2 separate regions of the Homo sapiens genome follow, and region 1 is linked to region 2. The links are contacts of gene promoters, found by promoter capture Hi-C in human tissues and cell types (Jung and others, 2019). All regions are on one chromosome and are shown on one strand. Each heading gives the region's core, a stretch centred on a gene start or on the middle of the fragment in contact. The rest is flanking DNA. Distances are from core to core; before and after follow the strand shown. Region 1 overlaps ZNF418 (zinc finger protein 418). Region 2 holds the start of ZSCAN1 (zinc finger and SCAN domain containing 1).

The links. Contacts are between HindIII fragments. The study calls those that stand out against the background at their distance.
Region 1: a contact is called between a fragment that was not itself captured here and the fragment with the promoter of ZSCAN1 in region 2, in 2 of the 25 tissues and cell types used here (neural progenitor cells and spleen).

What each region holds. Positions count from the first base shown.
Region 1 is chr19:57,923,210-57,927,172 of GRCh38, forward strand. It overlaps ZNF418 (zinc finger protein 418), which reads right to left. Exons shown (of 6, transcript NM_133460.3): 4 at 2,414-3,963; 5 at 1-80. The coding sequence ends at 2,941. Among named protein-coding and RNA genes, the nearest start is that of ZNF417, 8.6 kb to the left of the region's middle. The HindIII fragment of the contact is 9,147 bases long and covers 1-3,963 here.
Region 2 is chr19:58,032,179-58,035,840 of GRCh38, forward strand. It overlaps ZSCAN1 (zinc finger and SCAN domain containing 1), which reads left to right and starts at 1,847. Exons shown (of 6, transcript NM_182572.4): 1 at 1,847-1,983. The HindIII fragment of the contact is 19,074 bases long and covers 1-3,662 here.

The DNA.
Region 1 (3,963 bases), core at 951-3,450, 110 kb before region 2:
AGAATCGCTTGAACCCTGGAGGTGGAGGCTGCAGTGAGCTGAGATCGTGCCACTCCAGCCTGGGCAGACAGACGGACATTCTGTCTCAAAAACAAAAAAAATTAAGAAAGAATCAAAAGCAACTTTCTAATTCATTGCAGACGGGAGTATTTTTCTATTTAGTGACACACTTACCTAACCCATTTATGCCAAGGGATGCAAAATATATATATATATACATATACACACACATACATATATACACACATATATATACATATATACATACATATACATACATGTATATACATATATACACACACATATATACATATATACATATATATACATACACACACACACACACACACACACACATATATACACATATATATATATTTTTTGAGACCGAGTCTTGCTCTGTCACCCAGGCTGGAGTACAGTGGTGCGATCTTGGCTCACGGCAAGCTCCACCTCCCGGGTTCACTCCATTCTCCTGCCTCAGCCTCCCGAGTAGCTGGGACTACAGGCGCCTGCCACCACGCCCAGCTAATTTTTTGTATTTTTTTAGTAGAGACGGGGTTTCACCATGTTAGCCAGGATGGTCTCGATCTCCTGACCTCGTGATCCGCCTGCCTCAGCCTCCCAAAGTGCTGGGATTACAGGCGTGAGCCACCGTGCCTGGCCACTTTCATGGGTTTCTATGAAAGTCTAAACTTACCACATGGTACAGTTTAAATATGTATAGTTTACAGAATGTCATTTATTCCTTATTATGGCTTTAAAGAATTGATTCAAAAGAAAAATGTGGGCTGGACATGATGGCTGAGGCCTGTAATCCCAGCACTTTGGGAGGCTGAGGGAAAAGGATTGCTTGAGGAGTTCGAGGCTGCAGTGAACTATGATCTCGCCACTGTACTCCAGCCTGGGTCACAGAGCAACACCTTGTCTTAGAAAAAAAAAAAAAGAAAAACATGGATTTTCTATTATTTTTGACAAACATGCTTGACAACTATACAAAATCTCCTCATGTCCTAAGTGCAGCAATGAGTCTCTGCGGCAGCAAATACTGATAAGCCAGGAAGGCCATTTTCACCTGATTAAATTGGAACACTGGTTGGTCACAAAGACCACATCACTGGACTAAGAGATCTCCCTTCTCCCTATCCTCTTCCTCCTGCCAATGCAGGAATTGCCTTGAGGTGAACAGCCGAGAAAGGGTACAGGAATCCACGAATCCTTTATATTATTTCCTTTGACAATGGCCTCAGCTACACAAGATTCATAATTATGGAGGTTCTGAGAATTTCTGTACCTGACAGTCCACCACATACATAGTAACTGAATCAATGTGGATGACGTGCATTCCAACTCTGTTCTTGCAGTGTCCTCCACTGCCTATAAATGCAGAAATTCTATAAATTATGACTTCCTGTTATAATCTCATAACCTGGGACACCACACTACGAAACTCTGGATATCAGAGCACATGGCTGCATTCCAGGACCTAGGGAACAGATTTCCCTCAGCAGTACTGAGCAGAATGCAATATCCCTTGTAAAAGAGAGGAAATTTTCGTGTCGATCTCAGAAGCATCAGAGGATGTCACAAACACTGTTCCCTTCTCAGGTTTATCTATAAACCCAGAAATTATTGGAGTATCTAGTCAACAAATAAGGACCACAAAGTTCTGGAGTCTTTGGAGGCCTTGGGCAGCCATGAAAACTATGCCACAAGTGAAGAGACAGTATATTCTGTCATCATACTGTCCCCTCTGAGGCACACAAAGTCTAGTGATCCCAACAAAAGCTGTCTGCCCCTTTATGACACCAGAACCCAGTTGTTTCCAAACCACCCGAAAGAGTAAATACAACTCTCAAGACTGAAGGAAGCTTAAACAATAAGGCCTTATTCATTGCACAAATCAGAGCAATGGGAAGCAGAATGTTCTTTGGTTGGAACTTAAGAGCCTAAAGAATCACATGAGACCCGCTGGGTGCGGTGGCTCACGCCTGTAATCCCAGCATTTTGGGAGGCCAAGGAGGGCAGATCATGAGGTCAGGAGATCGAGACCATCCTGGCTAACACGGAGAAACCCCATTTCTACTAAAAATACAAAAAAATTAGCTGGGCATGGTGGTGGGCACCTGTAGTCCCAGCTACTCGGGAGGCTGAGGCAGGAGAATGGCGTGAACCCGGGAGGCGGAGCTTGCAGTGAGCTGAGATCACGCCACTGTACTCCAGCCTGGGCGACAGAGCGAGACTCTGTCTCAAAAAAAAAAAAAAAATATCACATGAGACCCATAAGGTCCCTGAAAAAGGTAGTCCATCTTTTCAAGCTGACAGAAGACCCCTCTGGACCAGTACTGAGACAGATCCATGGTCTCGCTCATCCGAAAGAAATGAGAAAGGAATGACAGCTGAGACTACTCACCAATTCCTCTGGCCAACGAAAGACAACCAAGGTTTACTTCCAGAACATCATGGGGTGAATGAATGATGCACAGTGAACACCTGCCTCGTGGCCGACATAAAATGGCTTTTGCCAGATAACCGACATCATGTCTGGCAAGGGAACCCGGCAGGGTGAAAAATGCCACACAGCTCCAACATAATTGAGTTTATGCAGATGCTGAAGGTATGTCAATTTAGGCAGATGGCTCCGTCATAAGGCATCTCCTCCAGTGTTATGTTTTACAAGAAATAATATTTCCTGTACGTGTACAGTGTTTTCCTTATGAGAACAATCTGTTATCCAATGACAGAAGGCAGAAGGCTTTCTCACATTCATCGCACTCAAGAGGCCCTTCTGCAGTGGGAGCTCTTCTGTATGTAATAAAACAAGACTTCTGCATAAAGAATATCCCACGTTTGTCACACTCATAAGGTCCTGATCCAGTAAGAACCCTCTGATCAAGAAGATGCACAGAGGTTTAGCTAAAGAATTTCCCAAATTTCTTTTCACTTGTAAGGACTTCTTTCTGTGTGAACTCTCTGATGTCGAAGGAGAGAAGAGCTTCGATGAAATGATTTTCCACATTCACTGCACTCATAAGGCCTTTCTCCAGTGTGTACTCTCCTGTGTTCAGTAAGACTGAAGGTTTCAGCAAAGGATTTCCCACATTCGCTGCACTCGTAAGGCTTTCCTCGAGTATGAAGTCTCTGATGTTTAAAATGCGCAGACCTTCGAGTAAATGTTTTTCCACATTCCCTGCATTCATAAGGCCTTTCTCCAGTGTGAACTCTCCTGTGTTCAAGGAGACTGGAGAAGAATTTCCCACATTCTCTGCACTCATAAGGTCTTTCTGCAGTGTGAGTTTTCTGATGTCGAAGGAGGGAAGAGCTCTGATGAAATGACTTTCCACATTCTCCACATTCATAAGGCCTTTCTCCAGTATGAACTCTCCGATGTCGAAGGAGGGAACAGCTTTGAGGAAATGACTTCCCACATTCACTACACTCAAACGGTTTTTCTCCAGTGTGAACTCTCTGATGAACACGAAACCCAGAGCTGTCTTGAAATGATTTCCCACATTCATTACATTCATATGGCCTTTCTCCAGTGTGAACTCTCTGGTGTTCAATGAGGTGGGACTTGCCCCTAAATAATTTCCTACACTCTCTACACTCATAAGGCCTTTCTCCAGTGTGGCTTCGCTGATGCTGAATGAGGTTGCCCTTTCGACTAAAAGATTTCCCACATTCTCCACACTCGTAAGGTCTTTCTCCAGTGTGACCTCGCTGATGGTTCCTAAGGTGTCCCTTTCGACTAAAAGATTTCCCACATTCTCCACACTCATAAGGTCGTTCTCTAGTGTGAACTCGATGATGTTCAGTTAGGGTGCCCTTTTGACTAAAACATTTTCCACATTCTTCACACTCATAAGGTCTTTCACTAGTGTGACCTCGTTGATGTTGAATGAGATTGCCCTTCTGAGTAAAACATTTCCCACATTCTTCACACTCATAAGGTCTTTCTCCAGT
Region 2 (3,662 bases), core at 597-3,096:
GCACACATGAGCCTTCACTGCCCCAAAGGGCCACGCCAATTTCAGCTACCAAGAAAATGAACCATGTCATTACAAGTGCCTAATTTTCAAGAAGGAGAATAATAAGCCCTTAGCACCCTAATTTGGTTTTCCCATAGTGGTTTCTGCACAAAGTGGCATTCACACACAACATTCCAGGGACCAGCCGCCAGCAGCAAAGATGCGGAGACACGGCTCTGATTATCCAGCTGAGGCAGCCCCTCCCCTCCCTGCCACTCCTGGGACTCTTAATCTCCAGGCCTCGTTTTATTTTATTCTAGGTATTTATATTTCCATGAAGCATCTGCTTTGTTTACTGGTGTTTGCCCCATGAACATGGGCTTCCAAGGGACTAAAGCCCTATCAGTCCCTCTCACTGATGTGCTCCCACCCCAGTGTCCAGAACAGTGCCTGGTACACATAGGCCCTCAATAAACAGCTGTCCAGCAGATGCTGGACCCCCTGGAGGTGGGTCCTCCTCTCTTTTCTTAGCTCACACTCTCCTGCTTCTTCTTCAGCAATGAGCAGCTTCAGCTATCCTGAGCTCAGTCCCAGAGCTGAGGACCCTCCTTGCATCATGATCTCACCCCCACCTGATTTCAGATACAAAACGAGTATCTGTGGAACCCTACTATTCTGGCACATGGTTACATTGTAGACATTAATATTAAAACTTATTTATATGAAATGTTCTTATGTAAGGTTTCGTTAAAGTATATGAAATATAGGACACATTGATACTAATTCCTTGTTTTTCTTTTTCTTTCTTTCTTTTTTTTTTTTTTTTTTTTTTTTTGAGACAGAGTCTCACTCTGTTGCCCAGGCAAGGCTGGAGTGCGTTGGCAGGTCTCGGCTCACTGCAACCTCGGCTTCCCCAGTTCCAGCGATTCTCCTACCTCAGCCTCCCGAGTAGCTGGGATTACAGGCACGCACCACCATGCCTGGCTAATTTTTGTATTTTTAGTAGAGACGGGGTTTCACCATGTTGGCCAGGCTGGTCTGAAACACCCGACCTCAGGTGATCCGCCTGCCTCGGCCTCCCGAGTTCTGGGATTACAGGCGTGAGCTATCGCGCCCGGCCTCCTTGTTTTTCTTGAGTTTACATATAACTGAGGTTTCTTTTTTCTTTCTTTTTTTTGGGGGTGGGGGGACGGAGTCTCGCTCTGTCACCCACGCTGGAAAACTGGAGTGCAATGGAGCAATCTCGGCTCACTGCAACCTCCGCCTCCCCGGTTCCAGTGATTCTCCTGTCTCAGCCTCCTGAGAAACTGGGATTACAGGCATGCGCCACCACGCCCAGGTAATTTTTGTATTTTTAGTAGAGACGGGGGTTTCACCATATTGGTCAGGCTGGTCTCGAACTCATGACCTCGTGATCCGCCTGCCTTGGCCTCCCAAAGTGCTGGGATTACAGGCGTGTCACCGCGCCCGGCCGACGTCCTGTATTTTTATTTGCTAAGAGTGGCGATCCTAGTCTGGGACATACTTGTACTAAACATATTTATATTAAAAACAATGTTTTAACATACTACTCTTGGACACTGTATAAAACGGTTGCGTGTCTGGAATGCCGTCGTTTTGCCCCGCGGCCCCATCGTACATGCGCATCCCCGCAGCCGCCACCGTCTCCACTTTCCGCAGCAGCGTCCCTGACGCTGCGCGACCCGTTGCCAAGGCGACTGGAACCGCGGCCCGAGGTAACTGGAGGGCACGGCGGGGGCGGGGCGCTCATCCCAGGCGGCTTCTGATTGGCCTCGGCCGCCTCGTGCGTCACAGCCCCGCCCCTGCCCGGGAGTCCCGCAGCGGTGACTTGTCACCGACGCCCGGCGTGATCCAGCGGACCAATGGCGGCCGCCCGCGGCGCGCAGGGTGCGGGGATGGGGTCCGCCCGCGGCGTTGGGCGCGCTCGCCAGCCCAGGGGTCGCCATGACCGAGTGGCCCAGGCCCGAGCGAAGCCCGCGCGCGGTGAGTCCGCCGCGGCCCATCCGTCCCTCCGCCCGCCAGAGCGTCCATCGGGACGCCCACCCGGGAGGGTCTCGGCGCCGCGTCGGCGGGAGCTGGCCCGGGATCGCGGTCCAGGGGCGCGCGTCGGGGGAGGCGGGCCCGGGCCCGGGAGGGGGCGGGCCGGGCCGGGGTTCCAGAGCCCATCGGGAGTCCTGAGGTCGCCGTAGGGGAGGGAAGGGGAAGGCTAGAGGCCACGCGGGGCGGGGACTGGGGGGGCTGGGGCCGCCCCTTCCGCAGGGACCCCGACCCCTGTTGGCATCCGCCTGTCCGTTTGAGGCCGAAGCCCCTCTACGTACCCCCATTGCCCGCCCAAACACCGCTCGGCCGCGTCCAAGTTCTCCCTTCCACACCTGATCAGCATCCCGGGACCTATCTCCCTCCTGAACAGCCGCCCCCGGACCCATCTCCCTCCCTACCCGGCCCCTTGGGCCCATCCCCCACTGGAACAGCAGCCCCCGACCCGTCTCTCTCCCTACAAGCTCCCCCTCCCCGCCCCAGGCCCATCTCCCTCCTGAACAGCCGCCCCCGACCCATCCCCCACCCAATCACCCCACCATCCTCCCCCCAACCAGCCGTCCACAGCCGTCGTCGCTGCCCCTCCCCTGTATTCCCAGTGCGCTGCCCTTGCACACTTCCCCAGCTCGTTTATTATGGAACTCCTCCGTGTGGCATCCTAAGCTCCCAACGCCCTCCCCACTGTAAGCCCCCTTCTCAAAGCCAGAACCATTCACTGACTGGCGCAGTGAACACGTCTTCTATGTCACTAAGCATCCGGCATCAGCGGCAAAGCCCTTCTGCCCATCCCCGCAATAGAATTTGGGGCTCGGGCTGCAGATCTCAGTGCCCATGCCAGGTGAACCTGGCCCTTCCACAGGCACTGAGCCCTCCAAGTGACACTCTCTCACACACACACATCCCCAACATTAATCAGAGACCCCTACCAAAGTAGACTTCTAGGACCCCAGGGCCACCACAGCATTGCCCATGGGGGGGCCCAGATCCTCCTCACCAGCCATGTAGACCTCAGTCCCCTTCACATCATCCCAGGCCCTCTTCATCTTCCAGAAACAGCCACCCATCAGTCCAGGACTCTCATCAGCTCAGGTACCCCCACATTGGCCTAGGTGTTCCACATCAGCCCCCATATAGACCCCAGACACACCCATGGACCTCTGGTGCCTTCTGCTAAGACCTCCTCTTTACCCTCATCCCTGATAAACTTAGCATCTCCTCCCACAGACCTCAGCCCAGGACCCTGGAGGATGCTGAGGGGCTACAGCCCCCCTCCCTAGAGTCTCCAGGGTGAGCTGCCATGAGCACCTGAGAGAGTATAAGGTCTGAGGCCCCAGGGCAAAGGGATTTCTTGAACCTGTGGAGCTTCAAAATAGGCCCTTTTTTCTTATTCAAAACTACATATATAAAAGTGTGAATACAACATAAGAGAGCATTTTTGCCTGTGGCCTTGGCAGGGAAGACCAAGCTGGTAGTTTCCCAATCAGGGTGCAGGTGGCCGGGTACGCTGACTCGAAGATGGCTGGCTGGGCACAGTCCCCGTGAGTTGCCTTTCTGCCACCCTGCACCTCTCCTTTCTCCTGGATTGTAAAACCAGATGCACGAGAACTGCAGAGTGTATGAAAAAT